4 separate regions of the Homo sapiens genome follow, and regions 1, 2 and 3 are each linked to region 4. The links are contacts of gene promoters, found by promoter capture Hi-C in blood cells and fetal thymus (Javierre and others, 2016). All regions are on one chromosome and are shown on one strand. Each heading gives the region's core, a stretch centred on a gene start or on the middle of the fragment in contact. The rest is flanking DNA. Distances are from core to core; before and after follow the strand shown.

The links. Contacts are between HindIII fragments. The CHiCAGO score rates a contact against its expected background, and 5 or more counts as called.
Region 1: a fragment that was not itself captured here is called in contact with the fragment with the promoter of CCNB2 in region 4 in 3 of 17 cell types (monocytes, naive CD8 T cells and non-activated CD4 T cells); the score reaches 7.7 in monocytes.
Region 2: a contact is called between a fragment that was not itself captured here and the fragment with the promoter of CCNB2 in region 4, in 1 of 17 cell types (neutrophils). The highest score is 6.1, in neutrophils.
Region 3: a contact is called between a fragment that was not itself captured here and the fragment with the promoter of CCNB2 in region 4, in 2 of 17 cell types (M1 macrophages and monocytes). The highest score is 5.9, in M1 macrophages.

Annotation. Positions count from the first base shown.
Region 1 is chr15:59,514,938-59,518,317 of GRCh38, reverse strand. FAM81A (family with sequence similarity 81 member A) reads right to left here. Exons shown (of 9, transcript NM_152450.3): 8 at 1,478-1,673. Among named protein-coding and RNA genes, the nearest start is that of FAM81A, 78 kb to the right of the region's middle. RefSeq lists an enhancer at 2,990-3,059. The HindIII fragment of the contact is 7,154 bases long and covers 1-3,380 here.
Region 2 is chr15:59,538,180-59,541,601 of GRCh38, reverse strand. No RefSeq gene overlaps it. Among named protein-coding and RNA genes, the nearest start is that of GCNT3, 72 kb to the left of the region's middle. The HindIII fragment of the contact is 5,264 bases long and covers 1-3,422 here.
Region 3 is chr15:59,494,587-59,497,635 of GRCh38, reverse strand. The region is part of intron 4 of FAM81A (family with sequence similarity 81 member A); the gene reads right to left. Among named protein-coding and RNA genes, the nearest start is that of FAM81A, 58 kb to the right of the region's middle. The HindIII fragment of the contact is 9,786 bases long and covers 1-3,049 here.
Region 4 is chr15:59,103,470-59,106,929 of GRCh38, reverse strand. It overlaps CCNB2 (cyclin B2), which reads right to left and starts at 1,784. Exons shown (of 9, transcript NM_004701.4): 1 at 1,638-1,784. The coding sequence starts at 1,661. RefSeq lists an enhancer at 1,972-2,261. The HindIII fragment of the contact is 2,621 bases long and covers 1-2,516 here.

The DNA.
Region 1 (3,380 bases), core at 655-3,154, 410 kb before region 4:
AAAAAAATGGAAATAATAAAGGGGTAAAAAGGCATCATGAGGCTAGGCCTGGTGGCTCTTGCCTGTAATCCCAGCACTTCAGCAGGCCGAGGCGGGAGGATCATTTGAGGTTGGGGGTTCAAGACTAGCCTGGCCAACATGGTGAAACCTTGTTTCTATTAAAAAAAAAAAAAAAAAATTAGCCGGCCGTGATGTCAGGCGCCTGTAATCCCAGCTACTCAGGAGGCTGAGGCAGGAGAATCGCTTGTACCCTGAAGGCAGAGGTTGCAGTGAGCCAAGATCACGCCACTGCACTCCAGGCTGGCAACAGAGCAAGATTCTGTCTCCAAAACAAAAAAAAAAAAGGAAGAAAGAAGAAATATATTGTCTTTGTAATAAAGAAAATGGCTTTATTTTTTAAAAGGCTCAGATGCTTTTCATATTAGGTGCTAAATATTAACATCCTCAATGGTATGTTAAATAACAATACATTCCTTCAGGGAATGATGCGAGGTTAAACATTGATGAAATATTCAAATACCATATTTTAATAGTCCAAAGACTAAGAAAGAAAATTCATTTTTATCTTTACAAGTTCTCCAATTCATATATTTAATTGTAGCTCCTATAAATAAAATAATAAACATTTGGTGGTAATAACAAAATTATTCTAGGGATAACTAGCACTTTTATTTCCATGTGGCCAAAACAGAACAATTTCATAGAAGAAAATTCATGGAATCATACAACTGGAAGAAGCTAGGAGAGAATTTAGTTCCACTTCTCACACTACAGGAACGTCTTCTTCCTGACCACAATCAACCAGCCTCTACTTGAATATTTTCTGTAACAAAGAGCTCTCAAGCTCCGAAAGCCATCAGTCTTTTAGGACTCATTAACTTCAAGGTACTTCTGCCTCATATTGAGTTAAAATCTGTCTTCGGGTACCTTCCACTTAGTGGTCACAGTTCTGTATTCCTGAGTTCAGAGCGTAAATCTAATCCCTCCCATATATGACAGCACTCAGAACTTGAAATCAGTGCTAATGTTCTCCTCTAAGCAAGTGTGAATTAATGCGCCCTGCTGACCTGCCAGTAGAGGAAAATCATTCTTTGCCAGGGTGGTACTGTACTGCTAGCACTATAAAATAAGCCCTCAAAACCCCCTCAAAGATATGTGCTTCCTTCTGAGACATGTTAACCTTGGCTATGAACAGAAAAGAATTGGCCGATGGTGCTGAAGAAAATGTACCTCAGTTGCAGGCTAAGCAATTTCAGTTCTGTTTGCCTGTCTCTCACGGTGGCTCTTTATATAGCTGAAATTCAAACAGCATTGTAGCTACTTAGAAAATACAGCACAGCTACTCAGAAAATCAACTAAGGATATTTCACGGTTATTACCATTAGCCAGGTTCATAGGTAGTTGCAGGGGATACTAATTAATAGGTTTTAGAACAAACAGAAAATAAAGCACGTGAGCTGTTCTGGTTTTGGCCTACCAGCATTAACTTCTGCTTTCATTTCCTTGATGTTCTGGTTCATCTGTAACTCCAGCTTGGTGATTCGCCCGTGCATCTTCTCCTCTTCTTGCCTTGTTCTCTGACCATCAAAAGTCTTCTTTTGACCCTCTTCTATTTTGTCAAGCCTGGCTGACATCTGGCTGAGCTTCTTCTCCATATCCCTTTCACTGGCTCCCTGAGATCCATGATAAGAACTGCACTTAATCACTCCAAAAAGAAATCTGCATTGCATTCACATCAGCCATAATATCGTTTAACAACAATCTGCAAGAAACAGATTTGCAACAGCTGCTTGTTGCCCACCATAATATCCGTTCTCCCTTTCTTCCTTAACAGATCCATGATTTTCGGCTGGGTACAAGGTCATTCAAAACAAAGACTACATTTTCAGGCTGGGTGCGGTGGCTCACGCCTGTAATTCCAGCACTTTGGGAGGCCGAGGCAGGCAGATCACTTGAGGTCAGGAGTTCGAGACAAGCCTGGCCAACATGGTGAAACCCTGTCTTTATTAAAAATACAAAAATTAGCCAGGGATGGATGGTGGTGGGTGCCTGTAATCCCAGCTACATAGGAGGCTGAGGCAGGAGAATCACTTGAACAGGGGAGGCGAGGTTGCAGTGAGCCAAGATCTCGCCATTCCACTCCAGCCTGGGTAACAGAGTGAGACTCTGTCTCAAAAAAAAAAAAAAAAAACCACTACATTCAATGAGATGTAAGTACAAGTGTATATGGCAGCTTCCAGGAAAAGTTAAAAGACAGCTGATGTATCTCCTTACTTCTTCCTTCGTCCTTCCCTTTCTGGAATTCAGCCAGAATGGCTGGAGCTCTAGCAGCTATATTGAATTATGAAGATATGGATCACTCTAGGGTTGGCAAAAAGTTAAACTGGAAGGATCCTGGGTCACTGAGGACTGAGAAGCTATCATACCAGTCCTGCATTACCTATACCCAGACTTCCATTATGCGAAATAAAAAATAAGTTTCTATTTCATGAAAGCCACTATTATCCTGGGGTTTACTGTTAGCTATTAAACCAATCCATATATAAACAGTGATCCAAAGACCAAGAATTATTAGTACAAATGTATTAGTATAAATCCAAGTAAGCCAATTAGTAGATGTGATGGAAATATGGGGAAATACTTAAAAGAACATATTTAATATTTTAAATATATATAAAATCATATATGAAAATTAAGTCTTTCCTTTCCTTTTGCCTTTCCACATGCTTGGTTTTTATGGGAATCTGTGTCTGCCAGTGAGCTTGGAGGCCAAGACTGCAAACTCCAAGCTGTAAGTGGGTTATGGCATGATACTCCTCTCTTGATGGTGCTCAATGCAGAGTCTGCAATTCAACAGCTCCACATCTGGAGAGAGCAGAGTCAGAGATGTACTGCACCAGTCATTTCAGCTCAATCATCAATATCCAACAAGAGGAAACAGTACAAGAAAAGGGAAGGGAGACAGAGATGTCATGCTAAACAATGAAAACCAATGAAACTTTGCTTGCCAGGTACTGGTTTGGGAGCATAACAATTTTGAATACTACATATGCAAGACTTTTTTTTCTTTTTTTGAGATAGAGTCTCACTCTGTCGCCCAGGCTGGAGTGCAGCGTGCAGTCATACCTCACTGCAGTTTTGACCTTCCTGGGCTCAAGGTGGATTCAGGCTCAGCCTCCTGAGTAGCTGGGACTACAAGCGTGTGTCACCATGCTCAGCTAATTTTTGTGTTTTTTGTAGAGATGGGGTTTCACCATGTTTCCCAGGCTGGTCTCGAACTCCTGGGCTCAAGCGATCCTCCCGCCTCAGCCTCCCAAAGTGCTGGGATTACAGGAGTGAGCCACAGTGCCCGGCACAAGACTTTCTTGATATCGTTTTTG
Region 2 (3,422 bases), core at 221-2,720, 430 kb before region 4:
TTGTTGAACTGCAGAATTTGATGCAGGAGGTCTGGGCTAGGGCTTCTAACAATCTCCAGGAGAGTCCAGGCAGCAGGACTGGGAGGTCTGGAGTTCGAGACCAGCCTGGCCAACACGGCAAAACCCCATCTCTACTAAAAATACAAAACTTAGCTGGGCATGGTGGCGGGCACCTGTAATCCCCGCTACTTGGGAGGCTGAGGCAGGAGAATCACTTGAGCCCAGGAGGTGGAGGTTGCAGTGTGCCGAGATCATGCTATTGCACTCCAGCCTGGATGACAAAAGTGAAACTCTGTTTCAAAAAAAAGAAAGGGAGGGAAGGAAGGAAGGAGGAAGGGAGGGAGGGAAGGGAAGGAGGGAGGGAGGGAGGGAGGAAGGGAAGGAAGGAAGGAAAGAAGGAAGGAAGGAGGGAAAGATTTCAAGTGCTATCCTGAGAATGATTCCATCTCAACAGTTTCCTTAGGCCATTTAATTCAGTTCAAATTTCCAAGCCAAAGTATTTGCCCCTTAGTGGGAGGTAAGGAGTCCTTTCAATAACATTTCCACCAGAACCACACAGAACCGGGGCTTGTTCTTCAAGAGAAGCCAGAGGCTGTCACCCTAGTAAAAGAAGGCACAGGCTGGCCAGGCAGCAGGAGACATCCACTTCAACCCAGTTATATTTTGAACCCAAAGGCACAACCACGTCTTTATCTTTATTACATTTTTAAATGGATGTTGAGTGTTTATTTTCCTCCAGGTTATTGGTAGAGAGTGTTTTAATATTTTTATCACTCCAAAAAGAAACCTTGTCCGCATTAGCAGTCACTTATCATTCCACCTTCACCCCAGTTTCTGGAAACCACCAAGCCACTTTCTGTGTTTATAGATTGGCCTGTTCTGAACATTTTATAATGCATGAAATTTTACCCTATGTGGTCTTTTGTGACTGGCTTCCTTCACTTCAGATATATTTCCAGGCTGGTCGTGGTGTCTCACACCTATAATCACAGTACTTTGTGAGACCGAGGTGGGTAGATCGTTTGAGCCCAGGAGTTTGAGAACAGCCTGGGCAACATGGCGAAACCCCATCTCTACTAAAAATACAAAAATCAGTCAGGCATGGTGGTGAGCACCTGCATTCCCAGCTGTTTTGGGGGCTGAGGCACGAGGATCACCTGAACCTTGGGAGATCCAGGCTGCAGTGAGCCGTGATCAGGCCGCTGCACTCCAGCCTGGGCAACAGAGTGAGATACTGTCTCAAAACATTTAATTTTAAAAAAAAAGAATCTTTCCAAGGGTCATCCATGATGTAGCATGGATCACAATTCCATTCCTTTTTACGGCTGAATAATATTACATTGTATTATGTGCCACATTTTATTTATCCATTCATCAGTTGATGAATATTTGTGTTGTTCCCACCTTTTGTCTACTATGAAAATGCTTCTATGAATATTCTTTTTTTTTTTTTAGATTTCCTCAAATTCCTTTTTGTCATGTTATGAATATTCTTGTACAGGTCTTTGTGTGGACCTAGGTTTTCAGTTCTTTGGTGTACACACTTAGCAGTAAAACTGCTGGGTCATATGGGAACTCTATACTCAACATTTTGAAGAACTGCCTGTTTACCACACTCTTTTCCAGGGTGTGGCATGGTGACTCACATCTGTAATCCTAGCACTTTGGGAGGCCAAGGCAGAAGGATCACTTGAGGAGTTCAAGGTCAGCCTGAGCAACATAATAAGACCCTGCCTCTACCAAGAAAAAAAAAATATATATATATATATATACACGTATATATATACGCGTATATATATACACGTATATATATACACATATACACACGTATATATATACACGTATATATACACACGTATATATATACACGTATATATACACACATATATATACACGTATATATACACACATATATACACGTATATATACACACGTATATATACACGTATATATACACACGTATATATACACGTATATATACACACGTATATATACACGTATATATACACACGTATATATACACGTATATATACACACGTATATATACACGTATATATACACACGTATATATACACGTATATATACACACGTATATATACACGTATATATACACACGTATATATACACGTATATATACACACGTATATATACACGTATATATACACACGTATATATACACGTATATATACACACGTATATATACACGTATATATACACACGTATATATACACGTATATATACACACGTATATATACACGTATATATACACACGTATATATACACGTATATATACACACGTATATATACACGTATATATACACATATATATACACGTATATACGTATATATACACATATACGTATGTATATACACACATATACACGTATATATATATGTACATATATACACACATATATACGTACATATACATACACACACACATATATATACACACACACATATATATGTGTATATATACACATACATATATATAAAAAATATATAGCTGGGTGTGGTGGCCTGCACTGATACTCTTAAATACTCAGGAGGCCGAGTGGGTAGGATCACTTGAGCCAGGAGGTTGAGGCTACAGTGAGCTATAATTGTATCACTGCACTCTAGCCTGAGCAACAGAGTGAAAACTTATCTCAAAAATAAATAAGTAAATGAAACCAAAGGGGCTGCACCAGTTTGCATTTTCACTGGCAATATATGAGGTTTCCAAATTTCTTCACATCTTCATCAAAACTTGTTACTAGCCAGGCACAGAGCCTGATGTCTGTCATTCCGGCATTTTGGGAGGCTGAGGTGGAAGGATTGCTGGAGACCAAGAGTTTCAGACCAGCCTGGGCAACACAGTAAGACCCTGTCTCAAAAAAAAAAAATTGATTAGCTGGGTGTGATGGCATGCACCTGTGGTCCCAGGTGGGGAGGCTGATGCAGGAGGATCTCTCGAGCCCAGGAAGTCAAGGCTGCAGCGAGCCATGTTCATGCCTCTGCATTCCAGCCTGGACAACAGAGTGAGACTCTTTCCAAACAAACAAACAGACAAAAAAAACAAAAGCACACAAAACTTGTTATTGCCTGTCTTTTTTTATTCTTAATAAGATTGAAATGGTATTTCATTGTGTGTTGCTGTTTGTTTTTTTTGCGGGGGGTGGGGGGTTTGAGACAGAGTCTTGCTCTGTCATCCAAGCTGGAGTGCAGTGGCACAATCATAACTTAATACAGCCTTGACCTCCTAGGCTCAAGCGATCCTCCCACCTCAGCATCCCAACTAGGTAAGACTATAGGTGCATGCCACCATCCTTGGCTAATTTAAAAAAAAAATGTTTTTGTATAGATGGGGTCTCAATATGTTGCCCAGGATTGTCTCAAACTCCTGGCCTCAAGCCATCCTCCTGCCTCAGTCTCCCAAAATG
Region 3 (3,049 bases), core at 168-2,667, 390 kb before region 4:
AATCCTCCTACCTTGGCCTCCCAAATCCCTGGGATTACAGGCATGAGACACTGAACCCACTGAAAGACTTAATATTTTTAAAATGGCAATATTCCCCAAACGGATCTACAGATTCAACACAGTCCCTATCAATATTCCAACTGGTTTCTTTGCAGAAATTGACAAACTGATCTTAAATTTTTTTTTTTTTGAGACAGAGTCTTGCTCTGTTGCCCAGGCTGGAGTGCAGTGGCACAACCTCGGCTCACTGCAGCCTCCGCCTCTCAGGTTCAAGCGATTATCCTGCCTCAGCCACCCGAGTAGCTGGGATTACAGGTGGCCACTACCACACCTGGCTAATTTTTGTATTTTTAGTAGAGATGGGATTTCACCATGTTGGCCAGGCTGGTCTCAAACTCCTGATCTCGTGATCTGCCCACCTCAGCCTCCCAAAGTGCTGGGATTACAGGCGTGAGCCGCCATGCCTAGCCTGATCCTAAATTTCTTCTTCTTCTTCTTCTTCTTCTTTTTTAAATTTGAGACAAAGTTTTGCTCTGTCACCCAGGCTGGAGTGCAGTGGCACAATCCCGGCTCACTGCAACCTCTAGGTTCAAGCGATTCTCCTGCCTCAGCCTCCCCAGGAGCTGAGATTACAGGTGTGCGCTACCACACCCAGCTAATTTTTGTCTTTTTGGTAGAGATGGGATTTCACCATGTTGGCCAGGCTGATCTCAAATACCTGACCTCAGGAGATCCACCCGCCTTGGCCTCCCAAAGTGCTGGGACTACAAGCGTGAGCCACTGCACCTGGCCTGATCCTAAATTTCATAAGGAAATACAATGGACCTAAAACAGCTAACACAATCTTGAAAAAAAAGGATGAAGTTGGAGGACTCACACTTCTCAATTTCAAAATGTACCACAAAGCTATAGCAATCAAGACAGTGTGGTACCAGCATAAGAAAATAATTGAGAATCAATGGAATAGAATTGAGAGTCTACAAATAAATCTATACACCTATTTGCCAAGTGATTTTCTTTCTTTTTTTTTTGAGATAGAGTCTTGCTATGTTGCCCAGGCTGGAGTGCAGTGGCGAGATCTTGGCTCACTACAACCTCCGCCTCCCAGGTTCAAGTGATTCTCCTGCTTCAGCCTCCTGAGTAGCTGGGACTACAGGCGCAGGCCGCCACACCTGGCAAATTTTTGTATTTTTAGTAGAGACGGGGTTTCACCATATTGGTCAGGCTGGTCTTGAACTCCTGACCTCCTGATCTGCCCGCCTCGGCCTCCCAATGCACTGGGATTACAGGCGTGAGCCACCGCTCCCGGCCGCCAAGTGATTTTTCAACTAGGGTGCCAAGACCATTTGATGGGGGAAAGAATAGACTTTTCAACAAATTATGCTGGGATAAATAGATATCTACAAGGAAAATAATAAATGTGGAACCTTACCTTATACTATATACAAAAAAATTAACTAAAAATGGATCACAGGCCTAAATGTAAGAGCTGAAACTATAAAACTTAAAAAGAAAATATAGGCATAAATCTTTGTGACCTGGATTAGGCAAGAGTTTCTTAAATATGACACCCCAAACACTAGCAACTGAAGAAAAGATAGATGTTAGATATAAGCAAGATTAAAAATTTTTAAGTTTCAAAAGACATGAGAAAATGAAAAGACATCCCTTAGAATGGGACAGTAATTTTTCAAATCAGATATCTGATAAGGGAATTATATCTAGAATATATAATTTTTAAAACTCCTACAGCTCAATAATAGAAAGACAATTACCCAATTTAAAAATGGGCAAGGAATCTGAATAAATATTTTCCTAAAGAAGATATGCCAATGACGAGCAAGCACATTAAATGATGTTCAACACCATTAGTCCTCAGGGGGATGCAATCAAAACCACAATGAGATACCTCTTCAAACCCACTGGGATGGCTATAATCGAAAAGATAGAAAACAACTGTTAGTGAGGATGTGAAGGAATCGGAGCCCTCAGACACTGCTGGGGGCAATGTAAAGTGGCGGCCACTTCGGCAAACAGTCTAGCTGCGCTGTTCCTCAAAAGTTGAATATAGAGTTATCATGTTACTCAGCTTTTTCATTCTAGGTACATATCCAAGAGAAATGAAAACCTATGAGCACACAAAAACAAATAGACAAATGTTCACAGCAGCATTATTTAAAATAGTCAAAAGTGGAAACAACCCCAACGTTCAACTGATGAACAGGTTTTTAAAATGCAGTACACAATGAGGTACTATGCAGCCATAACAAGGAATGTAGTGCTGATACATGCTACAACATGGATGAACCCTGAAAACATGATGCTAAGTGTCAGAAGCCAGAATCAAGGGAACACATTCACTCGAAATGCTCAGAAGAGGGAAATCCATCAGACAGAGAATGTAGGCCTGCCATGGACTGGGGAACTGGGGAGGCTGGGGAAAAATGGGGAGTGACAGCTAACAGGTATGGGGTTTCTTTTTGGATGATAAAAACGTTCTGAAATCGATTGTGGTGATGACTACATGACTGTGTGAATACACTAAAAATCACTGAATTGTGTGCTTTAAGTAGGTGACTTATATAGTTAGATCTCACTAAAGGTGTTCAGAGAGAGAGAGGAGAGAGAAAGGAGGCTATGTATCGGGCCTTCAGGTCTGATCAAGTCCTGTTTAGAACACGGTATGCCACATGAGCTAAATGTGTATCTCATCTTTATGGAGAACTTGCCTTTGCCCTTCTGAGCTGGATTTACAGGGGAAAAAAATCAAGGCCCATTTGCTACTAATTACATCACCAATGGACACATAAAAACTATAAAATTAAATATGAAATAATATAGCAACCTAGTGTCTTAAGAATACCACTTAAAATGTTCATACCCCTCCAATACAATTACATAATCAACACAAGAAAGCCAAGAAACTTTTCCAAAGAATTTTTATTTCACATGAATTCATTTCAACAATCAAGTCTCATCAGCATTCTAATATAGCCAAAAAAACAAAGCAAAAATATTTAGTACTCATAACAAACACTTTTGATGCCTT
Region 4 (3,460 bases), core at 535-3,034:
AAAAAGTAAATTAAGATGAAAAATAATAAAGCTATAATATTAATAGTTAATAATAGGTCTGGTTGTTTAAAAACCAGATGTTTAAAACCTAAACTAGCTTTGATTCTTATGCCATTTCACAAATAAGAAATGCTCCTGTATGCATGATCTTTTAGAACTACAGCTTTTTAAAATGAGGTTGCCATAGAATGGATTTTCTCTTATATTAAGGACATTTAGAATGGAAGTAGTTTTCTTGAGTAATATAGTTTTAGCTCCCAAACTCAGGGAAGGTTGGAATTGTATGAAATAAAAATTGTCAGTTGACCTTAACCTGCTTTAGACATAATGTGCTTGGAAATAAAACTTGCTAGGAAAAGCAACTCATACCAAAAAAAGTTTATTATAGAAGTGATAAACATTTCATTAAAAAAGAAAAAAGCAAAAAACCAGCATGTCCTATCCCTGAGAGTTCAGGGTCCCGACTCTAATAAAACTCCCAACAAGGGGTTTGAGTGGATCTACCAGGCAGAGAGAGGGGCCAGGGAAACTCAAGCCTTCCCTGAACAGAAAGGTTTTGACTATTAAATAACGTTATAGAATACATTATTATAAAAAATTACTTGTCAGTTGGACTTAGATCCACAAAAGGATATTAATTAAATGCTAAATGTATTCAATCTATTAGGATTCTCAAAAGTCACACTTCAATTTCTTCCAGCAGCAACTGCCAATCTGAAAAAGTGTTTGAAAATGTAATGCTTATGGGTAGAAGCCTGGTAATGTGACTCAATTTAAATTCATCTGGATAGGAAAATTGGCAGCTTTTATCTAACCTTATAGCCAAGATGATGGAACTCAGGTGTGTCAGGGCCCTCTAGCTTTCGGCAAAGGAAAAAAGTAGGTCCCGGTACAATTCAAGCCCACAGGAAAAATACCCAAAACACCATAACACTTTGATCTCTGCAAGGATGAAATAAATGAATTTGGACCCTTTTCTCTCAGTCTGCCACATTGGTCCAAATTATATTCAAAAACCTCTGTTACATTTGAGTAAAGAAATTAATTTTTTAAGGGGACAAACCCATTTATTAGTGAACGTAGCATGGAAGACTTAGCGTGCCGAAATAAATGGGAAACTCATACAAAAAGAAATGTGAACAATCTGAAAAACAGCCTGGCAGTTGCCTGATGAAACACGCCGTACACTTTACTGCCTACAGAACCCTTCCAGTCCTCCTCCCAGCCGCCATCACAGGTCCCTTAGTTGGCAAGGAGTTGTAAGAAAGGGGGAGGGAAATCCCAGGAACGTGGAAGTAGATAACTCTCTAGCAATGAAGAGCACTCGGGGATCGCTCGCTGAGTACTAGGCCTAGTGCTCTGGGGGCTCACTTGACAGGCGCCATCTCGGAAGCGCTTTCCTACACTTCTCCCACCCCGGGGCAGGGAGGGGTTAGGGGAGGGCGGAATCCAGACGGGGAAAGGCGGGCCGGAGAGGACCGGCCGCAGGGCCAGGGACGCGGGCGAAGCAGTGAGCTCCGGAGAAGAGAAAAGCAGCCCCGGTTGGGACGGAGAAGCTCGGAGCAGATGAGAGAAGCGACAGGGGAGCTGTGGGGCCGACGGACTCGCCTCTGAGAGCGGTCCCCGGGCACACTCACCGTCGGGCGTCGGAGCAGCGCCATGAGGGACGGGGAAGGCAAGAGTGCCAGCCCGGCCCAGGGAGGGACGCGGACTGAAAAGGGAGGACACTAGCGTACGAGGCGCCGTTAGGACTGCTCTCCGAGCCCGCAGCGCTGGGGATCTTCGACGCTGTAGCCTTGTTCCAGGATTCAAATACCGCGTCGCTTGCGCCCCATTGGGCGGCCCTGCGCACGGGTCGCTGTTCTCATTGGCCAACACAAGATGCACTCTCGCACTCTCATTGGCTGAATTTTCTTAGACACGTTTGATTGTCACAACAGCCGGTTGGGGTGTTTTTTCTGCCTACAGTCTTTTAAAAAAAAAAAAACCCCAGTCTCTGAGACAAACAAAAAGGAACTGTCTCATTGGGAAAGCAGACGTAGGACGCCTCTGAATTTTGACAAGGCCTCATCTACGAATTTCTCTCGACGTTTGTAGTGGGTGGGCGGAAGTTGGTTGGCCTTTATTCCTCTTCTGGTGTGTTGGGGTTTAAGTTGTGTTGGCCTGGGTGCAGGAACCGGCCCCTCCGGGTTGCTCAGGGATGCAGTGTGTTAGGTGGTTGAGATGCAAAAGTGTGCTTAAAAAAAGAGAGAATAATGGCGTTTACTCAAAAACCCAAATTCTCAAGTAAGGCAAAAAAAAAAAAAAAAAGATAAAAGAGATTTGTGTGACTGGTGATTCATGTAAGTTCTCCATTGTATTCCCAACACCTAGTACATCGTTTGTCGTATATGGTTGGTGCTCAATAAATGTTCGTCTAATAATCAGCCCAAGCAAAGAATTCATGTCTAAGACCCCAAAAGCAAATGCAACAAAAACAAAAATACATAAATGGGACCTAATTAAACTAAAAAGCTTCTGCACATCAAAAGAAATAATAGACAACCACAGATTAAGAGAAAATATTTGCAAACTATGCATCGGAAAAAGGCCTAGTGTCCAGAATCTAGAAGGAACTCAAATCAGCAAGAAAGAAAATAATGCCATCAAAAAATGGGCAAAGGACATGAATAGATATTTCTCAAAAGATATTCAAATGGCCAACAAATACATGAAAAAATGCTCAACATCACTGATCATCGAAGAAATGCAAGTTAATACCACAAGGAGATACCACCTTACTCCTGCAAGAATGGCCATCATTAAAAAGTCAGAAAAAAAGGCCGGGCGCAGTGGCTCACACCTGTAATCCCAGCACTTTGGGAGGCCTGTTGGGCAGATCATTTGAGCCCAGGTGTTCAAGACCAGCCTGGGCAACATGGCAAAACCCCGTCTCTACAAAAATACAAATATTAGCCGGGTGTAGTGGTGAGCACCTGTAGTCCCAGGTACTGGGAGGGGGGCGGGGGGCGGGGGGCGGGGGGCCGTGTGTTGGGGCAGGAGGATCCCTTGATCCCATGAGTCTGAGGCTGCAGTGAGCCATGATTGTGCCACAGTACTCCAGCCTGGGCAACACATTGAAACCCTGTCTAAAAAAGAAAAAAAACCTCAAAAAACAATAGTCAAAAAACAGTGTAGGCGTGGATGTGGGGAAAAGGGAATGCTTAAACACTGCTGGTAGGAATGTACAACTTCTATGGAAAAAAGTATGGTGATTCCTTAAAGAACAAAAAGTAGTTCTACCATTTGGTCCAGCAATTCCACTACTGGGTATCTACCCAAAGGAAAAGAAGTCATTATATGAAGAAGACACTTGCACATGTATGTTTACAGCAGCACAATTCACAATTGCCAACCTAAGTGCCCATCGACCGAGTGGGTACAGAAAATGTGGTATATATACACCATGGAATACTACTCA